Regions from separate parts of the Homo sapiens genome. Here all the other regions are linked to region 6. The links are contacts of gene promoters, found by promoter capture Hi-C in blood cells and fetal thymus (Javierre and others, 2016). All regions are on one chromosome and are shown on one strand. The core of a region is centred on a gene start or on the middle of the fragment in contact, and the rest is flanking DNA. Distances in the headings are between cores, read along the strand shown. Region 1 holds the start of ZNF444 (zinc finger protein 444). Region 2 overlaps KMT5C (lysine methyltransferase 5C). Region 3 holds the start of ZNF628 (zinc finger protein 628). Region 4 holds the start of CCDC106 (coiled-coil domain containing 106). Region 5 overlaps ZNF524 (zinc finger protein 524). Region 6 holds the start of RPS9 (ribosomal protein S9).

What was found. The method cuts DNA at HindIII sites, captures the fragments that hold promoters and counts their contacts. A CHiCAGO score of 5 or more calls a contact.
Region 1: a contact is called between the fragment with the promoter of ZNF444 here and the fragment with the promoter of RPS9 in region 6, in 1 of 17 cell types (total CD8 T cells). The highest score is 5.6, in total CD8 T cells.
Region 2: a fragment that was not itself captured here is called in contact with the fragment with the promoter of RPS9 in region 6 in 1 of 17 cell types (erythroblasts); the score reaches 5.2 in erythroblasts.
Region 3: the fragment with the promoter of ZNF628 here is called in contact with the fragment with the promoter of RPS9 in region 6 in 2 of 17 cell types (naive CD8 T cells and total CD8 T cells); the score reaches 5.6 in naive CD8 T cells.
Region 4: the fragment with the promoter of CCDC106 here is called in contact with the fragment with the promoter of RPS9 in region 6 in 3 of 17 cell types (total CD8 T cells, naive CD8 T cells and total CD4 T cells); the score reaches 6.1 in total CD8 T cells.
Region 5: a contact is called between a fragment that was not itself captured here and the fragment with the promoter of RPS9 in region 6, in 1 of 17 cell types (naive CD8 T cells). The highest score is 8.0, in naive CD8 T cells.

Annotation. Positions count from the first base shown.
Region 1 is chr19:56,139,410-56,143,393 of GRCh38, forward strand. ZNF444 (zinc finger protein 444) reads left to right here and starts at 1,878. Exons shown (of 5, transcript NM_018337.4): 1 at 1,878-1,948. RefSeq lists enhancers at 1,341-1,670, 1,701-1,840. The HindIII fragment of the contact is 17,292 bases long and covers 1-3,984 here.
Region 2 is chr19:55,341,178-55,344,964 of GRCh38, forward strand. It overlaps KMT5C (lysine methyltransferase 5C), which reads left to right. Exons shown (of 9, transcript NM_032701.4): 2 at 617-869; 3 at 1,038-1,203; 4 at 1,565-1,674; 5 at 2,503-2,666; 6 at 2,801-2,820. The coding sequence starts at 760. Among named protein-coding and RNA genes, the nearest start is that of KMT5C, 3.2 kb to the left of the region's middle. RefSeq lists a silencer at 96-275 and enhancers at 2,659-3,463, 3,464-3,787. The HindIII fragment of the contact is 3,932 bases long and covers 256-3,787 here.
Region 3 is chr19:55,475,032-55,478,685 of GRCh38, forward strand. It overlaps ZNF628 (zinc finger protein 628), which reads left to right and starts at 1,586. Exons shown (of 3, transcript NM_033113.3): 1 at 1,586-1,776. RefSeq lists silencers at 1,652-1,851, 1,984-2,307. The HindIII fragment of the contact is 2,239 bases long and covers 1-1,989 here.
Region 4 is chr19:55,645,535-55,649,518 of GRCh38, forward strand. It overlaps CCDC106 (coiled-coil domain containing 106), which reads left to right and starts at 2,678. Exons shown (of 5, transcript NM_001370470.1): 1 at 2,678-3,543; 2 at 3,671-3,775; 3 at 3,874-3,984. The coding sequence starts at 3,513. ZNF581 (zinc finger protein 581) reads left to right here. Exons shown (of 2, transcript NM_016535.4): 2 at 1-89. RefSeq lists an enhancer at 1-14 and silencers at 2,754-2,873, 2,904-3,033. The HindIII fragment of the contact is 17,145 bases long and covers 1,733-3,984 here.
Region 5 is chr19:55,600,653-55,604,604 of GRCh38, forward strand. It overlaps ZNF524 (zinc finger protein 524), which reads left to right. Exons shown (of 2, transcript NM_153219.4): 2 at 1,423-2,486. The coding sequence starts at 1,461. The coding sequence ends at 2,255. Among named protein-coding and RNA genes, the nearest start is that of ZNF524, 2.3 kb to the left of the region's middle. RefSeq lists a silencer at 1-141 and enhancers at 1,963-2,513, 3,617-3,952. The HindIII fragment of the contact is 3,453 bases long and covers 717-3,952 here.
Region 6 is chr19:54,198,894-54,202,661 of GRCh38, forward strand. RPS9 (ribosomal protein S9) reads left to right here and starts at 1,965. Exons shown (of 5, transcript NM_001013.4): 1 at 1,965-1,995; 2 at 2,267-2,388; 3 at 2,594-2,716. The coding sequence starts at 2,292. RefSeq lists an enhancer at 1,353-2,022 and a silencer at 1,785-2,278. The HindIII fragment of the contact is 3,345 bases long and covers 627-3,768 here.

The sequences.
Region 1 (3,984 bases), core at 628-3,127, 1.9 Mb after region 6:
GGGCATGGTGGTTCACGCTTGCAATCACAGCATTTTGGGAGGCCGAGGAGGCAGATCACTTGAGGCCAGGAGTTCGAGACCAGCCTGGCCAACATGGCAAACCCCATCTCTATTAAAAATACAAAAATTAGCTGGGCATGGTGGTGCACGCCTGTAGTCCTGGCTACTCAGGAGGATGCAGCATGAGAATCACTTGAGACTGGGAGTCGGAGGTTGCAGTGAGCTGTGATCGCACCACTGCACTCCAGCCTGGGCAACACAGCCAGACCCTGTATCAAAAAACAAAACAAAACAAAACAAAAAACCAAAAAAAAAAAAAGAAAAAAGAATCAAGGGCTGCTTTTCTATTTTTGGCCTCAACATTTGGGTGAAGATGGACTTGCTTTCTAAGATGGTGGAGTAATGGGAAGGAACAAATTTCTTCGCAAGGTGGGGGAGAGAGTGAAAAATTATCTACTGCCCACCTTAGGTTTGAGATGCCTATTAAGAAATCCAAGAGGAGATGTCAAGTAGGCCATCGGATATGAGTGGGAAGAAGATCAGCGTGCTCTAGGAGCAGAAAGGAGGCATGACTGGAACTCATTAAACACGAGGAGAAGACAGTGGTAGACAGGTGGGCCAGGGCAGATTAGGCCACCGTGGGCAAACTGGTCACAAAGTTCTGAGTCAGCCACTCATCGCTTGTGAAACCTGGGGAAAGTTGTTCATTTATGAATATAAGACGAACAACTTCCATGTAATGAATGCTTGTTATGGGTAAGCCACTGTCTTCGTTTTTATGGCGCGGAGTCTTCAGATCAGCCGGGGAGGTGGAGGATGGGAGGGGGATTCTCTTATCCTTGTTGTACGGAGGAGGAAATACGCTGCGGGCTGGGGTAGGGCTTGTATGAGCCATAATCAGGTCTGGAACTGTCTAGATAAAAACTTCAGCTGATCTCTTAGGATGTCTGTCTGCTCTAAAATCCAAATATGCTTCTTCACAGTTCTGAGATGCAGAAACTGAGGCCTCAGGACGGGGCAGTAGTCTGTCCAATAGGGGCACAGCGAGGACGCGTGGCAGGTAGCGCTGTCCCCCAATTCACCCCAGGGGAAACTGAGGCTAAAGAGAGGGCGGTGTCCTGTCCAGGTTCACACACAGGAAGAGCCAAACCGAGGCCCCCGCGCTGGCCCCCTCCTGAGCCACTGCCCACCCCGGAACAGGAGGGCAGCCTGCTCACGTCCTGATTCCTGGCACCGACATCGGCCCTTAAGTTCTGCCCGGGTGGAGAGGGAGGACAAAAAAAAATGCGATCCGTAGTCAAGGAGACGTAGCCTGCACTCCTGATTGGCGCAGAACTCTAGCCTGGTCTCCTCCTCCTCCTCCTCTTCGCTTGCCAGCTTCTAGAGCTCCGGAGGCCCCACCTCCCAAATGCCCGGCGGTGCCCGGCCTCCCCTGATCTCCACAACAACGCCGCCATGGCTCCTCCTCCTCCTCCCTCTTTTTTTCCCGGCACTTCTGCGCATGTCCAGGGCCCGCGCGCAGACCACTGGGAAGCCTCCTCGTGCATTCTGGGAAATGTAGTCCAAAGCCTGTCGCGCTCAGACAGCCCGCGACATTTGCGCCGTCAAGGCCAAATAGGCTGCAGACGACGCTTTCGCGTATCTTGGGAAATGTAGTTCCAGTGTTGGCGAAGACGCCACGCGGTGACAAACAGGAGTAAGGCGGTCCCCAGGCGAGGGCCAATTGGCAGCCGCCTTTGCCGCGATGCTTCCTGGGAGTTGTAGTTCGGGGTGAGGCCGGGGCTTCATGGGGAGTTGTTGGGCTGAACGAGCGGCTCGGAGTATGGGATTGGGGGAGGGGGACGGGGGAGTTTGGCGCAAAGCCTGCTGGGGCATGGAGTCCCGGCGAGCTTTGTGCGCATGTGCGGGGAGGTGAGGGGGCTTGGGGGGCCTCGCCTGAGAGAGTGAGGTGAGCGAGGGGGGAAGGAGGGAGGGATTGGGTGGGGGCGGTTGGACGAGGGAGGGACCAGAGGTTGGATGGGAAGAGGGGCGCCGGGGGCCTCAGGAGGGAAAGATGGGAGACTTGCGGGGAGGGGAGGAGAAGGGGGCTGAGTGATGGGGAAGGGGCTGGGAGAGGGAACTAGAGGGGGAGGGACTTGGAGAGGGGGAGGGGTGGATAGTGGGAGGGGGTCGTGGATCCTCGAGGTCCTGAACGCGGGAGAGAAATGCTGAGGGAGAGGACGGGGGAGGGGCGCCTGGGGGAGGGGGAGGGGCGGGACGGGGGAGGGACAGGTGGGGGAGGGGAAGGGGACCCTAGCAGAGGGTGGGCTGTGAGATGAAAGCTGAGTGGGAAGCTGGACCCTACAAAGGAGTCTGGGGGCGCCGGGACCGGACCCCTTCGGAAAGGTTTGCGGGAAGGGGCTTCCGGGGACGATGGTTATTGTTGTAACGTAGATACGGCGCAGGTGGCTCGTTTTGCGCGCTGCTTCTACAAGTGCAACTTTTACAGAGTTGTGAGATTCCTGAAGATAAGAATCGTTGCTCTGTTTTGCTGCTTTCTCAGTGCGGAGCATCTGCCTTTTTAGCTTGTTGCAAGGCATTATTACCTTCGGTAATATGTGTAAAGTGCTTAGAAACTCTGTTTATTGTCAAATGAAGTTGACCCCCGCCACCTCTACCCCAGTCAGGATGGAGTCACCCTCCTCTATATCCGATTTTAACGCCTATTCCAATGTATACTTAGTATTTTAATCTGCGTGCGTGTTCATAGCAGTGTCCCCTGGGCACCTCGCAGGGAAACTTCGACAAAGTAACCCTAAGTCTGACTGGACACTTACTAGCCAGGTGTGGTTCTCAGCATTTTTGTTCTCCTTCTATCACTTTACAGTCAACGAAATGGAGATACAGGGTATTACAAAAGGTGCCTTGTACCTCGTCCAAGGACACAGAGCTGGTAGGAGGCAGAGCTGGAATTTGCCCCAGAGCCTTTGTGCCGTAGGTAAATATTTGTCCAGTGGGCCAGCGGCTCTCAACCAGGAGTGGTTTTGTCCCCCAGGGGACATGTGGCAATGTCTGGAGACTTTTTTTTTGGTTTTTCCAACTTGGGAAGTGCTACTGGCATCTCATGAAAAGAGGCAGAGATGCTGGTAGACATCGTATGTTGCACAGGATAGCCCGCCACGACACAAGTGCCATTAATGTCGAGGTTGGGAACCTAGAGTAGACAAACCGGTCTTTGTCGAGCACTTAGCCTTTGGAGGCTGCTTCTAACTCCTGCTCCCAGCAGCCTCTTGAGAGGAAGGAGCTCTTGTTAGTCCTGTGTCTCAGGTGGAGAAATGAAGCACAGAGGGGGTAAGTCACACGTCCACAGTCACACTGCTGATGAGTGGCAGAGCTGGAAGTTGAAGCCAGGCAGCCAGACTCCACAGCCTCTTAGCCATGATATTAACCCAGCATATGTGGGTGCTGGTGCCGGGGTACTAGGTGGAACTGGTGTGGACTCTGGAGTCACATCTGGGTCCCATTTGTGGCTCCTTCACTCTCTGAGCATCTCCCTATGGTAAGAGGGGACCCATCTCCCCAGCTCACAGGTCTGTTGGGAAGGTTGGGTGGGGCAGTATAAGACACTAGCCACTCAGTGGCTGTCTTCAAGGCATCCAGGGTGCCTGGCTCTGGACTGGACTGTGCTTTGCGGACACAGACAGCTAGACAGCAGGGTTACAGCTGTTGAATGCACATAGCACAGGGCGCTCATTGGATGGTAGGGTGGATTGACATGGTGGAAGGCCCTTACTTAACAGCATGTGCTTTCTTGGGAGCAGGCCTTGTGCTGGATGGCCCCACCGACCCAGTGAAGAGCTGGACTTGGTCACTGCCCCAGAGAGCTCACTTTCTGGACAGCCCAGGGTGTAGTGACCTGTGATCACCTCTGAGATTGCAAACAGGGTCAGCTTGATGGCCTGTGGCATTGCTCTCTGGCGGAAATTCCTCCTTAGTCCCAGAGGG
Region 2 (3,787 bases), core at 972-3,471, 1.1 Mb after region 6:
GCCTCCCCATAGTCTTCCTTTGCTCCCCTCCCCACCCCCGCTTTTGTCCTCTGAGCCCCCCTCCCCTGGAATCCTTGGAGAGGGAGCAGGTGCTGGGATCCCTCCCCTGCCCTCCCTCCCGTCACCCGCCTCCAGGCTGCCTGGGGCTTCACCCGGAGCCTCCTGACCACTCCCGAAGGCTGCCGGGGAGGCAGGGGGCGGAGACCGAGGCTGGGTCGAGGTGGGGGTGGAGGGCGGGACCTCGGGCTGGCGGGAAGCTTTGACTTTTCCTCCTTGAGGGCTAGAGGTGAAGCGGCTCCCCACGGTGCTAAGCCTTTAGGGTGATCCCGGCTGCCAATCAGTCAGCCTTCTCTGGGCCCAAAGAGATGTGTGTGTGTAGGGGGTCTCTGTACATATGGGCAGGGGCATCTGCGTGTGTCAGTCTGAGTGTGCATGGGTGTGCATGTGGGGGTTGTGTGTTTAGGGGGGATCTGTGTCTGCGCTGCGGAGCAAGAGCAAGAGCTAAGGCGATGGCTGACATGGCTCTGGGCTTTCCCTACTCTCAGAAGTACTTGTTGCATTCCATCTTCGCCAGCGGCCTGGTGAAGTCAGCACTGCTTTTCTCCCCATTTTGCAGATGAGATCGTGGGGCTCACCAGCGTCCCCCATGGCTTCTGAGTAGCGTGGGAGTGGAGTCAGCACCAAGCCAGGCTCCCCGCGCCTGCCTTGCCCTCACCTGCTCCTGCTCTCTGCCAGAGGCAGCATGGTCCGCAGGGCACCATGGGGCCCGACAGAGTGACAGCACGAGAACTGTGCGAGAACGACGACCTGGCCACCAGCCTCGTCCTGGACCCCTACCTCGGTTTCCGCACCCATAAGATGAACGTCAGGTGAGGTGGCCTGGGGGCGAGGGTGGGCCCGAGGGGTCAGGACCCCTCCCCTTGCACCGCTGCCGCCCCTCGGCCCTCTCCTTAGCCTGGTCCTCCCCTCAGCTCCAAGTGGGGGTTGGGGCCGGGGCCCGGGAAGGCCCTGGGACCCAGGCATGCCCTCTCCCCCAGCCCTGTGCCCCCCCTGCGGCGACAGCAGCACCTGCGCTCAGCGCTGGAAACTTTCCTGAGGCAGCGGGACCTGGAGGCTGCGTACCGGGCCCTGACGCTGGGAGGCTGGACGGCCCGCTACTTCCAGAGCCGGGGCCCGCGGCAGGAGGCTGCCCTCAAGACCCACGTGAGGGCGCCCTCCCCTCCCCCGCCCTCACCGCGTGTCCTCCCCGCTCACCGGGCCTGGTCCCGCCTGGCAGACGCTCTAGAGTCCCTCAGCGCAGCCCCTGGGGCCCCCTGACTTCCTAGCCCTTGGGACCATCTGAGGCAAGGCTCAGAGAATCCTAGGAGAGGAGAGTTGGGGGGGCCCTCTGAGATGTAGTCCAACCTCTTCATTTGACGGATGAGGAAACTGAGGCCCCGAGAGGGAACATGAGGCCCCCAAGACCACACAGTGAGTCAGTGGCATGGCAGGCCTAGAGTCCTGGAGAGAGAGGGCCAAAGATGCCCCTGCCCCGCCTCCTCACCCCCACCCTCACCCTCACCAGGTCTATCGCTACCTCCGTGCCTTCCTGCCGGAAAGTGGCTTTACCATCCTGCCCTGCACGCGCTACTCCATGGAGACCAACGGGGCCAAGATCGTGTCCACTCGTGCTTGGTAAGAGGGCAGGACTCCCTGCAGGTATCCTTGGAGGAGACAGAGCTCAGAGGGGACAAGAGAGACCCTCTGTTCATGGACTGGCCAACCGGGGAAAAGCGAGGGGCCTGGTCCTCCGGGCATCCTAGGAAGGTGGTGGGGCTAATCCCGGAAGACCTTTGTGGCTACCGTGGTGCCGCTGGAGCAGGAGACCCCGGATGTGACCCCAGGGTTCCTGGGGCTTCCAGGAAAGAACTAGGCTTCTGGTCAGGGCCGTGCTGTCCTTACCTCCTTGTGACCTGAGCCCCCACCACATGTTAAACACCCCTGAGTGCAATGAGGAGCCCCTGCCCCTGCCCCTGCGGGGTTCACAGTCTGGTGAGGAGGTGGGGGGCAGACAAGTCAACATGCAGTCACTGGTCCCAGCTGGTACATGCTGCAGGGGAGCTGTGAGGAATGAGCAAGTGCTCCCAGGGCGAGGCTCACACTGACAGGGGAAGCACCCGCCTGAGGGTCTGGTGGGGCGAGTAGGGGGTAGTCCAGGCAGGAGGGATTTGGGGGCAGGAGGTGCTATGAGAGCGAGGGGAGAGAATGGGGGCTGTATCTGCTGTGTGCGTGCTGCCCTGAAGGCTTTCAGTAGAAGGGTCCTGTGGGGCTGTGGGCTGGAGCAGGGAAGCCCACCCAGGCAGGAGGGGAAGAGGGAGATCTGGAAGATGGATCGCCAATAGCCAGCACCAGCGCCCAGGAGTCCCTCCTTCCTGGGTGCCTCTGTGCCGGAGGCCCGAGTCCCCTGAACACCTGCAGGAGGCCAGGCATCGCCCACAGCCCTGCCCCCTGGCCTCTTGGCAGGAAAAAGAATGAGAAGCTGGAGCTGCTGGTGGGCTGCATTGCAGAGCTGCGGGAGGCAGATGAGGGGCTGCTGAGGGCCGGTGAGAATGACTTCAGCATCATGTACTCAACCCGCAAGCGGAGTGCTCAGCTGTGGCTGGGCCCAGCCGCCTTCATCAACCATGGTGAGGGTCAGGCAGGTGGATGGGCAGGACGGGATAGAGCCAGGCAGGGCTGGAGGGGTGTAGTGGGAGGGTTCTGCGACTGAGCTGCCGAGCTCATCTACCTCTCTTCTCTCTCCTGCCCCAACTGGCTCCAGACTGCAAACCCAACTGCAAGGTAAGGCCTTGGGACTCGGGAGGAGAGGGCACGCAGGAAGAAAGGGTGCCTGTGGCCTGGGGAAAGGGTTTTTGGTCAGTAAAGAGCCAAACACCGGCCGGGCGCGGTGGCTCATGCCTGTAATCCCAGCACTTTGGGAGGCCGAGGTGGGCAGATCACGAGGTCAGGAGATGGAGACCACGGTGAAACCCCATCTCTACTAAAAACACAAAAAATTAGTCGGGCGTGGTGGCGGGCGCCTGTAGTCTCAGCTACTTGGGAGGCTGAGGCAGGAGAATGGTGTGAACCCGGGAGGCGGAGCTTGCGGTGAGCCGAGATCGCGCCACTGCACTCCAGCCTGGGCCACAGAGCGAGACTCTGTCTCAAAAAAAAAAAAAAAAAAGAGCCAAATGCTGCCCCATGTCTCCATGGCTTCCCACGGGTCCTGGAAGGGGCAGAGTGGGTATTTGCTCACAAGGCTACCAGAAAGGAGGAAGGGGTTCCAGTTTGGCCAGCGTTGCCCGGCTGTTTGTGCAGTTGCACTGGAACCCTGGTTGCCAGCTGCTGGCCATCTTTCTTCTCTGAAAACCGAGCTGGGAGCTGTGCCAATTTGGGCAGGGAGTGTGGCAGGGAGGCAGGGCCCTGTGGTGGGAGCCCCCGGCCTTGCAGGGAACAACGCAGGCAGCTGTGGTGGCAGGAGCAGGGAGGCCAGAGAGCCCCAGGGGCCAGGACTCAGGATGCTGTCCAGACATGCCCAGGAGAGGCCGCTGGTTGTCCTGTAGCCCGGAAGCAGAAGGAATCAGGAGGGTTGGCTCCAGGGCGGCATTGAGGGTGCACCCTCTGGAGCACAGACCTCGATGGGGCACCCCGGGAGGCATGACAAAGGGATCCAGATTTTTGGCTCCAGAGTCAGAACTGAGTTGGGGTCCTGGCGATGCCACCCCTGGCCTTTGGTTTTTCATCTCAGATGGGGTTGGTGAGGATCTCT
Region 3 (3,654 bases), core at 336-2,835, 1.3 Mb after region 6:
TTGTGTGGTTAATGCTGACGTGAAAGGAATGTTGGGCTGAGCTGGATGCCAAGGGTTTTTACACGCACGAATGCACGGAGACATCAGCACCAAGACCCTGTAAGGTAGGGGTGGGTCCACACCACCGCAGATCAGCCCTGAGTTCCAGCCTGCTTGTGGACTTGGGAAACGGTGTGGGAGGCTGGAAAAATCCACTCATTCAACAAACAAGTACCGTCTGCTTCTCCATCAGGGCCCATGCTGGTTGTTTGGAATACCTGGGCAGCAAAGACACGAAAGGTCCTCGCTGTCATGGGACATAGATAAATGTCGCTGAGCATGTAAGAGGGACACCACCTAGCACAGGAGGCTTTCCAGTGGGATCTTGCTGGGCAGGGATGGGTTAAGGGTAGAAGGGCCTTCTGGCCTGAGAAACAGCATGCAGAATGGTCTTCAAGCTGAGGGTACTGCCTTTGAGCAGTGGCTCTCAACTAGTGAACATGTGGCAATGTCTGGAGATATTCTTTTTGTTGTTGTTGTTTTTTTTTTTTAACACAGAGTCTCACTCTGTCACCCTGGCTGGAGTGCAGTGGCACGATCTTGGCTCACTGCAACCTCCGACTCCTGGGCTCAAGCGATCCTCTTGCCTCAGCCTCCTGAGTAGCTGGGGTTACAGGTGCCTGCCACCATGCCCGGCTAATTTTTGTATTTTTAGTAGAGACGGGGTTTCACCATGTTGGCCAGGCTGGTCTTGAACTCTTGACCTCAAGTGATCTGCCTGCCTCAGCCTCCCAAAGTGCTGGGATTACAGGTGTGAGCCACCGCGAAAATCTCTATCTGGAGATATTCTGAGCTCTCCTACGGGGTGTGTGGAGCGGGGCTGGGGATGCTACCTGCATCTAGTGAGTGGGGGCCCTAGAGTGTGTAGGACAGTCCCCGCTGCAATGAATCCATCCCAAATGGCACTAGTGCTCTGGTTGAGAAACTGCGTTTAATGACCCTCAGAAAAGCCAGTGTGGCTGGAACGCTGGGTTGGGCGGGGGTTGAGCGTGGAGAGGGGCTTTGGAGCAGCTCGGTCTCCCACTAAAACCCTAGGCCCCACAAGGAGTCTGTGGATTCCAGCCTCCCAGAACAGACCTTTGCCCAGCAGGAACCAGGTTTCTGCAGCGTCTGGATGAGCGTGCACGAAGCACACGCCCGAAAATCCTGAGCACGTGGCTCTACCGAGGGACTGGAAGCGCTCCAGGCCTCGTTTTCCCGCTGGAGCGATTACACCCTGGGGGCGGGGCCCGCTTCACGGGAGGGATTTTTGTACAACCGTGGTGCATGGAAGGATTTTTTTGCAGATGAGAGGGAATCGGGATTAATAAGGGGAACTTGCGACCCCGCGTCTCGAGCTGGCCGTCCCTGGCCTTGGGCTCACCGGGGCCTCGGCCCCCAAGACCTGACAACTGGAGTCCGCGACCACAACTGGGAGAACTACAACTCCCAGGATGCCGCGCACCGCCTGCGCCCGAGCTCGACGAGGCCTCGCACAGCCAATGGGAGGGTCCGGGGGCGGGAACTCGGAGTACGTGCGTTGTGACGCACCGACGGCGACGTCGGGGTTTGTGTGCGCGAGAGGCCGCCGATAAAGGTTGGGTGCCTCGCGCCGGGGGCCGTTGGGAGGGAGTGCGCCCCTGCCCCCCCTCCCCGGTCCCCACAGCTGCACCGCCGCTGCCGGGGCCCCACCTTCCCGTCGACCCCCGCGGGAAGGTCCTGGGGCTGCCACCCTCGTTCCCCCGATTGGGGCCGCAGGTGAGAGACCGGAGGGGGTGGGGGTGGGGGGAGGGACCGGAGGGCGGAGAAGTTGCAGGGGGTGGGGCGGGGGGGGGGGCGTGAAACCGGAAGGGGTACCTTAAAGGGGAGTCACTATTTCACCTCCGACATTTGCCAGCTAGGCCGGGTCCGCCCTCTTAAAGGGCAAGGGGCCACATTGAGAGGGCGGGTCAGGCTTTGCATTTTTACAGAAGCTTTCTGACTTAAAACAATGTTTTTCCCCTAAAAGGCGGTTATCTCATTAAAGGCCAGTGACCGTTTCCCAGACATTGAAGCAAAAACTCCTGAGTCCTGGTTGCTTCAAAGCGATCCCTGGTTTAGCTCAACAAAAGTGGAGATGGGGCTCCAGTGGCAGCATCCCCTTAAAGGGGAGGTCCAGCCTGCTGAACGGGTGTGGCGCGGCCTTTTAAAGGGGATGTCTTCTTGTTAAATGGGACCCCGCTCTTTCAGGGCACGGATATCTCTTTTAAGGAGATGCTGGGGCTTCTCAAAGGCACGTGCAGCTTCTTAGCATCAGTAGGTTTGTTTTTTTTTTTTTTTTTTTTTTCTGGAGACGGAGTCTTGCTCCGTTGCCCAGGCTGGAGTGCAGTGGCGCGATCTAACCTGCTTACATATTAAAGGGTACACTTATCTTTTAAAAAGGAAGTTCTTGGCTAGGCGCGGTGGCTCACGCCTGTAATCCCAGCACTTTGGGAGGCCGAGGCGGGCGGATCACTTGAGGCCAGGAGTTCAAGACCAGCCCAGGCAATATGGTGAAACCCCGTCTCTACTAAAAATACAAAAATTAGCCGGGCGCGGTGGCGTGCACCTGTAATCCCAGCTACTCGGGAGGCTGAGGCAGGAGAATCGCTTGAAGCCGGGAGGCGAAGGTTGCAGTGAGCCGAGATCGCGCCACTGCACTCCAGCCTCGGTGACAGAGTGAGACCCTGTCTCCAAAAAAAAACAAAAAAAACACACAAGTTCTTGTAGCTTGTCCGACGGGGATGCCTAGCCTTCATTCATTTAAAATTTGTTTACTGCGCACACACTCTGCCAGACATTATTGTAGGCACTGGGATGGCATACAACAGTGAACCAGACAGAAGCCCCTATTTTCCCGGCGTTGACATTCTAGCATGGGGAGGCAGAATAAAACAGAAAGCACACTGGTTATATAGTAGCGGTTCTCATCTGGGGGCAACGGTGCTCCCCAGGGGCGACACTGCGGCTAAGACTCGGAGGTGCAGGAGTGAGCTTTGTGGACAGCGTAGAGGAGGGCTTCATAGGCCAATGTCAGGCGTCCAGTGGGTCGAGGCCGGGGGCCAGGGCTGCTGCTCGACACCCTGCAGTGCACAGGACAGCCCTCAACAGAGAATGGTCTGGCCCCACATCTCAGCACTGCTGAGGCTGAGAATCCTGGTACATTAGAAGGTGATAATTGCTGCGGGGGAAAAATAAGGCAGGAAAAGGGAATGGGGAGTTGGAAGGGATTGTAGATTTAAATAGGGCTGTCAGGGAAGCTCTTGCAGAGGGGATTTCAGCGAAGACTCGGAGGTGAAAGAGCGAGTGGCGGGCACAGGTGGAAAGGAAGGGGGTGGTTCTAGGCAGGTGCCCTGAGGTGGGAGCAGGCGTGCCTGGCCATCCTGGGTGACCAGAGTGACCAGGGGCAGGTGGCCAGTGAGGATAGCAGTAGGACAAGTCAGGGAGGGGACAGGCTGCAGGAAGTCGGCAGGCTCGAAGACCAGAACTGTGGCAGATTTCTGAGTACAGGAATGCAATGCCCAGCCCTCCCTGTTGACGGGTTCGCTTCAGTTGCTGTATTGGGAACAGACGGGTGGGCAGGGCACGGGTGGAAACACGGCGATCCGTGGGGAGGCT
Region 4 (3,984 bases), core at 1,428-3,927, 1.4 Mb after region 6:
CTGTTGTTGGGGAAGGGACCCCAGTCCTGCCTTCCACCCCCCAACCAGGCCTGAGACTGATCAAACAATAAACACGTTTCCCACTCTGAGCACTCGAGGTTTGTTTTTAGAGACAGCATCTCAGACCCTCTTTGGTGGCCGTCTAGCAGGGAGACCTCAGCTTGCCTGGCTGGGGAATGGGAAGGTTGGCCTGCCTTGGGGTTATCCCCTCCTCAGCTCCTGAAGACCTGGGTCATCTGGGAAGAATGTTTTTAACTGAAACAATTTTAAAACCACAATCTCCTGTTACAAACACATTTTATATGGCAATAGAGTATACAGATAAGCAAAATACACGTGAACCAAGTTTCCTTTTTTTTTTTTTGAGACGGAGTTTCACTCTTTTTGCCCAGGCTGGAGTCCAATGGCACAATCTCGGATCACCGCAATGCCTCCTGGGTTCAAGCGATTCTCCTGCCTCAGCCTCCCTAGTAGCTGGGATTACAAGCGTGTGCCACCATGCCCAGCTAATTTTGTATTTTTAGTAGAGACGGGGTTTCTCCATGTTGGTCAGGCTGTTCTTGAACTCCCAACCTCAGGTGATTCACCTGCCTCGGCCTCCCAAAGTGCTGGGATTCCAGGTGTGAGCCACAGCGCCTGGCCTCTTTTTTTTTAGACGGAGTTTCGCTCTTGTCACCCAGGCTGGAGTGTAATGGCGTGATCTCAGCTCACTGCAACCTTCACCTCCTGGGTTCAAGCGATTCTCCTGCTTCAGCCTCCCAAGTAGTTGGGGTTACAAGCGTGTGCCACCATGCCCAGCTAATTTTGTACCTTTAGTAGAGATGGGTTTCACCGTGTTTGTCAGGCTGGTCTCGAACTCCTGACCTGAGGTGATCCACACACCTCGGCCTCCCTCAGGGCACTAGGCCTCGAAACAAAAGTTTTTTTTTTTTTTTTCTTTTGAGACGGAGTCTTGCTCTGTCGCCCAGGCTGGAGTGCAGTGGCGCAATCTCGGCTCACTGCAAGCTCCGCCTCCCGAGTTCATGCCATTCTCCTGCCTCAGCCTCCTGAGTAGGTGGGACTACAGGCGCCCGCCACCATGCCTGTCTAATTTTTTGTATTTTTAGTAGAGACAGGGTTTCACTGTGTTAGCCAGGATGGTCTCGATCTCCTGACCTCGTGATCCGCCCCCCTCTGCCTCCCAAAGTGTTGGGATTACAGGCGTGAGCCACTGCGCCCGGCCCACAAAAATTTCTTTACCATAGTTAGCTTTAGTTTGTGCATTTTTTTTTCCATCAACTATTATTATTACTATTTGAGACGGAGTCTCGCTGTGTCGCCCAGGCTGGAGCGTGGTGCGATCTCGGCTCACTGCAACCTCCACCTCCCCGGTTTAAGCGATTCTCCTGCCTCAGCCTCCTGAGTAGCTGGGATTACAGGTGTGCACCACCACGCCCGGCTAAATATTTTTTTAAACTGCTGATTTCATCCTATTCTATTGAATTCTCCACCCATGAACCTGTAGTTTGGAAAAGACCAATCTAGGGCAGATGGCTCCCCCTGGAATTTTTGGACCAGGCTGCAGTTAATCTGTAAAGTGGGGAGGGGAGGATCATGGTCACAGCTTTGCAGGCGGTGCAGACATTTAGATTCTCCCTCCATCGGGTTAAGACCTTGCTCTTATAAGGGCTGGCCACAGTCCAGAGCTTGGATGCTTCTGGTGAACAGGAGAGGCAGGTGGAGCTGAGCCTGAAGCTTAATAAACATCTGCTTATTCATTCATTTTTCTTGCCTATTTTGTGCCAGGCACTGTGCTAGGCCTCATTTGCTCTTCCGACCTGTTTTTTTGGGAGGAAGAACAAATCTTCCGTTCATACTCCCCAGAGTGGGAAAGAGCCTCCCAGAGGCTGCCATCATACCCCACCATCTGACCTCAAATAATACCAGCAGCGCTCCTCTCTTCAGCCCTGACGATGGCCAGGTGCTGGGCTGAGCTTCTGTGTGTCGCATCACTGCATCCTCACAATAAATTTAGAAGGGCTTGTAATTTCCCCATTTTGCAGGTGAGTTAACAGGCTGGGGAGGAGCAGGAACAGTCAGGACTGGAATCTAGCTTTGCTCCAAAGCCAGCTCTTAATTACCAACATGGGGATGGGGGTGGCGTGTTCCTGGCCCTCATTTTCCGGGAGAGGGGTAACTCCCCCGATTTTGGCCCCCACATCCCTGAGAACCTTGGGGTCTGGCTGTAGGAGGTAGGGGAGCTCTGAGGGGTCCGCGCTGGCTAGTTCCTGAGAGAGCGTTAAAAGTAGATTCTCCTTTCGCTCCAACTTTCTCGGTGTCTCAAACACTCTCCTGCCTTCTGGGCCCATTGGGCACACCGCCACCCAATCCGGGGACCCCCGGAGACTCGCCAGCTCTCCAGGATGGGAATTTCGTGATGTTCCCTGCCTGAGCTTCGGGGAGGGCGGGGGAGTGCTGTAAGGGGCTATCGCGCAAGTGCAGACCCTCTGCTTCTGCCGCAAACGGCGGGCCTCACCTGGACCCGGGGACTCTTCAACGAGGGGCGCTAGCCTGGCCCGACTGGGCGAGTCCCCGCGTCCCTGCCCGTTCCGTCGCTCAGTTCCACGACACGCTCCCCTGCCGCCCCGCCTGTTCGCGGGTGGGTGGGCGCTTCCCTCGGCTCCCCGTGACACTTTGCAGACGCTCCCCGGCGCCGGGCATGGGCGCCGCCGCCGTCGGTCCCCGAGCCGGATTCCGCGAGCGGGTGGGTGAGCGCGGGGGGCCTCGGCCCCTCGGACCCCGGGCACCCGCGGGCGGGGGATGGTGGCCGCGTTTGCACCCCCGCCCTAGTGCATGTTCCCGCTGGAATCGTTCCACGACCGCTCCCCCTCCCACCCGCGGGACAAAGGGCGGGGGCGGGGGGGGCGCACCCCCACGCGTGACCTTTCCCCGTACTGCGCACGCGCCCAGCCCCCACCACCGGGGGACGGTCCGCCCGCCCACGCGAGTGCGGGGGAGGGGTGTGGGGGCCCCGAAGGTAGAGGAGGCAGCGCGCACGGGCTGGACCTCCTCCTACCCTGGGAAGTTGGGGCAGTTTCCCCCTGCACCTGCCTCTTCCTTAGGCCTGGCAGTGGCCCGCGATGAGAGAGGGTCCTTCCCCTTCAGGCTAGGTGTCCCTGGTCAGGCGACCCCTTGGGGCACCCAGCAATTTAGGGCTTCAGCTTCCTTTTCCTTCGATACCCAGGAGCCCACGTCCCCAGCTCACTTCTCCCCCAGGACCTAGGCGGCTGGGCCCCCTGCCCCTGACTCCAGGAGCCCAGGAGTTTGAAGCCCAGGCGCGTTTTGCCTCAGTCCTGGGGTCCAGGCTCCCTCCTCCCTCAGACCAGGGGTCCAGGCCAGAAGGTCCCTCCTGTCTCACTTCACCTCCCCCAGGATGGACCCTCCAGTCCATCTGCGTCTCTCCATTTGTGGCTGCCGTTTCTGTCCAGTGCCCCTGAGGCCCTCGGCTGCTGGGGTCCGTAGGAAGCCGCGCCATGAATGACCGGAGCAGTCGGAGGCGGACAAGTGAGGAAGCTGGGTCCCCTTCCCTACCCTGGGTCCCAGTGCGGTCGGCTCCAGGCTGCCGTGGTTGGGGGGTGGCCTGAGAGGCCCGGGGAATTCTCTGGGGTAACCCGGGGCCTCTCCTCTCCAGTGAAGGACGATGAGACCTTCGAGATCTCCATTCCCTTCGATGAGGCACCCCACCTAGACCCACAGATCTTTTACAGTCTGAGCCCCTCTCGGAGAAACTTCGAGGGTGAGCTGAGGGGGTGTGGAGGGACTGGAGTCAGCTGGGAAGCCAAGCCCTGAGTCCCAGGGTGTGACCTGGTCCCCCCACCCTCGCTGTGTCCCTAGAGCCTCCGGAGGCTGCGTCCTCCGCCCTGGCTCTGATGAACAGCGTCAAGACCCAGCTGCACATGGCTCTGGAGAGGAACTCCTGGCTGCAGAAGCGCATCGAGGACCTGG
Region 5 (3,952 bases), core at 1,193-3,692, 1.4 Mb after region 6:
GCCGATGGGCGCGTCAGTACCGGGGCGAGGGGACGGGGAGGGTCGGGGGACCAGTCTCCCCCTTTCCACCGTTCCAAAGACCAGACTCCTAGACTAGGCTACCCCGTGGGAGCGAACCGTATGGAAAGGTGGTTGCTCCTCTCTGGACAGCAGTCTATGTGGCTGTTAAAGGGGAGGGGGGGGTGCAGGGGGGCACCTGCAGCACCTGCTTCCAGCTGCACCTGTGCCTCCCCTTCCCCTCCGTTACACCCCAATCCCATGCTCCCAGTATCTGAGTGGGCGCCGGGAAGATGGTGGTGGCGTTGGTGAAGTTTATTGAGTGCTTACTGTGCACCAGGCAGTGTTCGAGGGGCATTTTAAAGCCCACTGTCTTATTCGATTCTCCTGACAACCCTGGTTTATTCACTTTTCAGAGGAGGAAACTGGCAAAGTCAATTGCTAGTTATAGGCAGAGCTGAATTCAAACCCAGGACTGAGCCCTCGTAATGTCCCCTTTCCTCCTTGGGTTTATTTGTTCTCCATTCTCTGGGACATTCGGGTCACAAGACCTGTTTCCAGTTTTGGCCCTGCCATTTACTGGCAGAGGAACTTAGGCAACTGACTTGGCTTTCCTGTGCCTCAGTTTCCCCATCTGCAAAATGGGACAGATATGCCCTATTCAGAGGGTTGATGTGAGGCTTAGCTGCTCCTGATAACAATGGCTAATGTGTCCTGAAAGCTTCTGTGTATGAACACTTTGTGGGTATTATGCTCATGGCATGTCTGGGCAAGTACGTAGAACTATGTGTCCCATTTTGCAAAAGTCTTGATTAAGGCTTAGAGAAGCGAACACCTTGCCCAAGGCCACGCAGAGAGTAAAGATTTGAACGAATGATGTCTTGACTCCAGGGCCCAGGCTCTTAACATCGCAGATATGTTTCCTCATCCAGGAATCAGGGTCAAATATCACCTGGGACCAGTCCCTTTTTTCCACTCTGGAACCCCTTCCCCACTTCTGCCAGTCAGCAGGGAGGGATGAGAGCATTCGTGAGGCCTCTATGGCTCTGGAGTTTGATGGGCTCTCCGTTTCAAGGATCACAATACTGGTCTGCACTCTCAGTTGGACTCTATCCTCTCTGGAAGGTTTTTTTTTGTGGGGAGGTGGGGAGGGGTGTTGCTCATGTTGATCTTGAACTTCTAGATCCAGAAGGAGAGTTAGGGAGGCATAGGGATGTCTGGTGGAGCTCAGGGAAGTGCCTGTTTATCAGCTGATACAAGATCATCTCACTGTTTTACCCACCAGCATAGCTAAAATTGTGTATCTGGATGAATGTCAAACACACCTTTGTCAAGAGACTTGGAGAGAGGGATGGGCGAGGTGTTGGGGGACACAGGGGTGCTCTAGACCCTGTGAGCACTGACTCTGCCCCTCTCTCCTCTTAGCTGGCTCCAGTGCCCAGACCCAAGCCCCCCACTGCTCAATGGACACCCCCAGCCCAGACCCGTTGCCTTCGCCTTTGCCCGGGGAGGAAGAGAAACCTCTGGCCTTATCTCCTCCTGTTCCCCGGGGCCGCCGAGGCCGTCGTCCTGGGGGAGCCACCTCCTCAAATCGGACACTCAAGGCCTCCCTCCCTCGCAAGCGGGGCCGCCCCCCCAAGTCAGGGCAGGAGCCCCCACTGGTGCAGGTGCAGGGGGTGACAGCCCCAGTAGGCAGCAGTGGCGGGAGCGACCTCCTCCTGATCGATGATCAGGGTGTGCCCTATACGGTCTCTGAAGGTTCAGCGGCTGGGCCTGAGGGCTCTGGCCCCAGGAAGGCCCCACACTTCTGCCCGGTGTGCCTGCGGGCCTTCCCCTACCTCTCCGACCTGGAGCGCCACAGCATCTCGCACTCAGAGCTGAAGCCGCACCAGTGCAAGGTTTGCGGCAAGACCTTCAAGCGCTCCAGCCACCTGCGGCGGCACTGCAACATCCATGCCGGCCTGCGGCCCTTCCGCTGCCCGCTGTGCCCCCGCCGCTTCCGCGAGGCGGGCGAGCTGGCGCACCACCACCGCGTGCACTCGGGGGAGCGCCCGTACCAGTGCCCCATCTGCCGGCTGCGCTTTACAGAGGCCAACACGCTCCGGCGCCATGCGAAGCGCAAGCACCCGGAGGCCATGGGGGTACCCCTGTGTGCACCAGATCCAGGGTCTGAACCGCCGTGGGACGAGGAGGGCATCCCGGCCACAGCAGGGGCCGAGGAGGAGGAGGAGACAGAGGGGAAAGGGGAGCCGGCCTGACCCACACCCCCGGCCATCGCTCCCTGGGCCAGGTTTAGAGCAGGGAGTTTGGCTGGTGCTGGGCCTGAGCCAGGGGGCCGGGACACCCTTGTTTCCGGTGGTCTTCCCGTTGTGGGAGCAGGTGGAGGGTGGAGACCTAAACTTTGGGGTCCAGCTGCCTTCAGCCCCCCTCCCCCAGACTAACAGACCCTTGGAGGCAGGGGCTGTGGAAATAAATCTCTGCCTGCTGGCTGCCTGTGTGTGTTCCGTGCCGGGATGCCATCCTCTCCTGCCTTCAAATGTTCTTCCTCGGCTACACCGTCCTGTCGGGAGTGCGGGGAATTGGAGAGGACCCCACTTCCTGTGCCTCATGAGCGTGGTGCTCGCCAAAGAATGGTTTTGGGGGGAACCTTGGCCCCTTCCCCATCTCCATCAGACCCCAAAGTCCATGGGTCCCTCGGAGTCCGCGGGGAATTGGTTCCACGAACCTCGCAGATACCAAGATCTGGGCATACACAAGTCCAGCAGTGGGCCCTGCGGAACCCGCGGATGTAGGAAAATCCGCCCTTCGTATACTGTATGTTCCACCGGTGTTTGGGTGAAAAAACGTCCGCCTCTCAATGGACCTGCAGTTCAAACCCCTGTTGTTCAAGGGTCAGCTGTATTCCCAGTACACATCCAATCTAACTAAAAACATTGAACCTTCCATGCAGACCTGACTGTAGGTCCGACCGCCTCTCTCCTAGCCAATTCCCAGAAATTCTGCAGCCACTTTGCCCCACCTCCTTGTCCTGAGGACCTACTGTTTGGAAGGAAAAATTAAGACAAAGGTATGAGCAGGACGGTCTGGGTAAGGTTTAGAGATAAGGGGTGTGGATTGGGGCGGGGCTAAGGAGCGAGGGGTGGGGCTGAGATTGCGGGGCAGTTAGGCTGGGACCTGGGGCGGGGGCTTAGAAGAGGGTTAGAGTTGGGTGGGGCTTAAAGAGGTTTAGGGGTTGGTCCGCAGAAAGTGAGAGCGGTTTAAAGAGGATGGATAGAGTTGATCTAATAGAGAGTAGGGGCTTGGAGCTGGGGAAGAACAGGAGGAACTGCGTGAGAGTGGGGCAAGGAGGACGGATAATTTTTTTTTTGAGACAGGGTCTCGCTCTGTCATCCAGGCTGGAGTGCAGTGGCCCTATCACCGCTCACTGCAGCCTCGACCTGCCAGGCTCAAGCGACCCTCCTGCTTCAGCCTCCGGAGTAGCTGAGACTACAGACGGGCGCCAGCATATTTAGCTAATTTTTTTTTTTTGAGACGGAGTCTTGCTGTCGTCCAGGCTGGAGTGCAGTGGGGCAATCTGGCTCACTGCAACCTCTGCCTCCCGGGTTCAAGCAGTTCTCTCCCTCAGCCTCCCGAGTAGCTGGAATTACAGGCGCCCGCCACCACGCCTGGCTAATTTTTGTAATTTTAGTAGAGACGGGGTTTCACCATCTTGGCCAGGCTGGTCTTGACCTCCTGACCTCGTGATCCACCCGCCTCGGCCTCCCAAAGTGCTGGGATTACAGGCGTGAGCCACCGCGTCCAGCCTAATTTTTGTATTTTTTTTTTTTGTAGAGACGGGGTTTTGCCATATTGCCCAGGCTGGTCTTGAACTCCTGTGCTCAAGCAATCCGCCTGCCTTGGCCTCCCAAAGTGCTGGGATTACAGGCGTGAGCCACCACGCCAGGCCAAGAGAACG
Region 6 (3,768 bases), core at 715-3,214:
TTTTCTTTTCTTTTTTTTTTTTTTTTACTCTAAATCATCAAACCCTATGAGGAAAGTCCTGTTACTTTCTCCCATTTAGCACTCTTGAAGAGGCTAATTTGCCTAAGATCAAGAGCTCGTCAGTGACTGCTGAGGTTCAAACGCAGATCTTTTTTAAGACTTGAGAACCTACAGGTTCAACCACCATTATAAAACCATCTCTGTAATCACGAGGCACCCGGAATTTGTGGAGCTTGGACTTCATCCTGAAGGGAGTGAAAACTTATGGAAGTTTTTTCCTTCCACGTTTCCCCCTTCCAGATGAATAATATACGCGTGTTCAAGATACAAAAATGCATAAAATTTGGCCAGGCATGGTGGCTTACACCTGTAATCCCAGCACTTGGGGAGGCTGAGGCGAGTGGATCACTTGAGCCCAGGAGTTCAAGACCAGCCTGGGCAATATGGCAAAACCCCGTCTCAAAACAACAAAACAAACAAACAAAAAACCCATAAAACTGAACAAGGTAGTTTGTAAGATATGGAAGTACAATGCAGATGACAATAATGACGATGGTAGCTACCACTAGGCGCTTTATTTATGCCACTCTCCTCAACACTGGATAGACTCTCACTTAATCCTCACAAGCTTATGAGGTAGGCGCTACCATCATTCGCCGTTTTACAGAGGAGGACGCTGAGGCACAGAGTGATTGAGAAACTTGTCGAAGGCACTGCAGCTGGCAAGTGGTGACGTGGCATTTGAATCCAGGCATCCGGATGGTGTGGATGCCGTGGAAGAGAAAGGGGCGGGTGGGACTGCTTCCTGAGGAGATAGTGACTGCCGAGGCAGCAGCGTAGGGAAGACAACTGAAGAACACGAGCTGTGGAGACAGACCATCGCATTCGGAGTGGAGAGATGGGTGTACAGACAGACAATAACCAGACTATATATAAAAAGAGAACTCTAGGTCAGGCGCGGTGGCTCACACCTGTAATCTTAGCACTTTGGGAGGCTGAGGCGGGTGGATCACTTGAGGTCAGGCGTTGGAGACCAGGAGTTCAAAACCCCGTCTCTACTAAAAATTTAAAAATTAGCCGGGCATGGTGGTGGGCGCCTGTAGTCCCAGCTTCTCGGGAGGCTGAGGCACGAGAATCGATTGAACCCGGGAAGCGGAGGTTGCAGTGAGCCGAGATCGCACCACTGCACTCCAGCCTGGGTGACGAGAGCGAAAAACTCCGTCTCAAAAATAAAATAAATTACTGATAATAGTACTAATACCCCTTAAGTGGCTATTGATAATAATAGTACCATGGGTGGGGGGGCAACTTCTCTGAGAGTGCTCTGTAAGTATGTATTGAAGATTGAGTAAATACATTTAAAATTCTTAGAACAGTATGTGGCACATAGCGTTCCAGAATGCCACATTATTGTTAGTGACAGAAATAATCTCGGCTGGGCGCGGTGGCTCACGCCTGTAATCCCAGCACTTTGGGGGGGCCACGGCGGGAGGCTCTCTCGAGGCCGGGAGTTCAAGACCAGCCTGGGCAACATGGCAAGACGCCGACTGTTAAAAAAAAAAAATGCTACCCGGGCGTCGTGGCGTGTGCCTGTAATCCCAGCTACTGGGGAGGAGGTGGGAGGATCGCTCGAGCCCGAGAGGTTGGTCGGGGCCTCAGTGAGCCGAAATCACGCCACTGCACTCCAGCCTGGGCGACGGAGCGAGACCCTGTCTCAGAAAGAAAAAGAAAAACCACCGTCCAGGGGCGGAGAAGGAAGGTTCTCCCTACTTCTCAGGTTTCCACTCCCTGGCCGGAAAAAACCTAGTCCTCCCAGGTTAGCACGCCGCTCTAGCCCAGCCTCACGTCTCCACTGCTTCTCAGCCAGCCAACGCCTCTTCTGATTGGCTCTGACGTGCGTGGTGCGTGAAAACGTCACGAGACGCCGGCGTTACTATAAGAGCGCAGCCGTGGCGCTTCCGCGCCTCTTTCTCAGTGACCGGGTGGTTTGCTTAGGTGAGGTGCGGTGGTGTGCTTTTTCTCTAGGGTTTGGGTTGGATGGTGGCCCGGGCCTTCCGAGTTTCCATGAGTAAGCTAAAGACGTTAGGAAACAGAGCAGGGTGGTTGAACGGGAGTGCAGCACGGTTGTGGGGGCAGATACTGACTATGAGAGCGTTGGAGGTTATTCTCGCGAGATCGGATCTGGGCTCCGCGAGGTTTTGGCGTAGTTGTGGGACTGCGCAGGCGCCGTTTGGATCCCTTACGCTCACACTTCTCTCCCGCGCAGGCGCAGACGGGGAAGCGGAGCCAACATGCCAGTGGCCCGGAGCTGGGTTTGTCGCAAAACTTATGTGACCCCGCGGAGACCCTTCGAGAAATCTCGTCTCGACCAAGAGCTGAAGCTGATCGGTGAGTGGCCAAGGCTTCCGGGAAGTGGTTCGGCTTCCGGGAGGCGGTTAGCACGTGGATGAAGGTGCCCATGTACTCTATCTAGTCCGTCCCCTAAATTTGGTACTATTCGTGGTTTAGGAAGGTTTTGTGATTCCAAAGCTGCCAGTCTAGTTGTTGTGCCAGTACGTGGGACTACACTTGTCCACCCCCTTCTCCCCACCAGGCGAGTATGGGCTCCGGAACAAACGTGAGGTCTGGAGGGTCAAATTTACCCTGGCCAAGATCCGCAAGGCCGCCCGGGAACTGCTGACGCTTGATGAGAAGGACCCACGGCGTCTGTTCGAAGGTGCGTATGGGAGTCCACAGCAGAGGGATGGGGTGCAGGGCTTGTGAGGTTCATTCTCCCTTCTGTTGCCTCTGTTCCAGTGATGAGAGTTGTGTCATTGGATAAATGGAACCAGCCTTCTAACTTTTAGTGGCACTTGTGGAGTAGGAAAAGTGTATCTGGATCAGTCTTTGCCCTGTTTCTTAGGTGTGTGGCTTTTTTGCCCAGTTATTGGACCTTCAGTTTAGTAATGACCAGAGCTAAAGATAGGCCTGGCACACCTGGGCACCCGTCTATATCTTTATATTCTGTTTATGTGGCCTGTTTGCTAGTGGATGAGAGTAGACTATGAAGTGGAATTTCTGGGCTAAGTGATGGTGATAACAGGGTTTGCACATTTGCTTGGTTTATTGTTTTTTTAATTAAGTTTTCTCGTTTTATTTAGTCTTTTGAGACGGAGTCTTGCTCTGTTGCCCAGGCTGGAGTGCCGTGGCGCCATTTCGGCTTACTGCAACCCCCGCCTCCTGGGTTCAAACAATTCTCCTATCTTAGCCTCCCAAGTAGCTGGGACTACAGACAGGCGCACGCCACCACACCTGGCTAATTTTACTTTTGAGACGGAGTCTCGCTCCATTGCCCATGCTGGAGTGTAGTTGTCGCAATCTTGGCTCACTGCAAACTCCGCCTCCAGAGTTCAAGCGATTCTCCTGTCTTAGCCTCCTAAGTAGCTGGAATCACAGGCATGGGCCACCAAGCCTGGCTAATTTTCTATTATTAGTGGAGATGGGTTTTCACCATGTTGTCCAGGCTGGTGCTTGTTTTTTTAAGCTGGTCAAGGACATTTAGGTGGTATTTAGCAAAGGCCTGAACAGGAGAGAACCTGTAAAATGTCTCAGGGAACAGCATTTCAGGTGATGACTTTAGGAGGGCATGCAGATCACATAGACTTAGGCTTACTTTACTAATTGTGGTGAAATACACATTAAATTGAAAATGTACCATCTTAACCATCTTGTTTTAAAATCTACTCTGAGATGCGGTGTTATTGGAGTGCTTTCTACAGCAGATTGGCA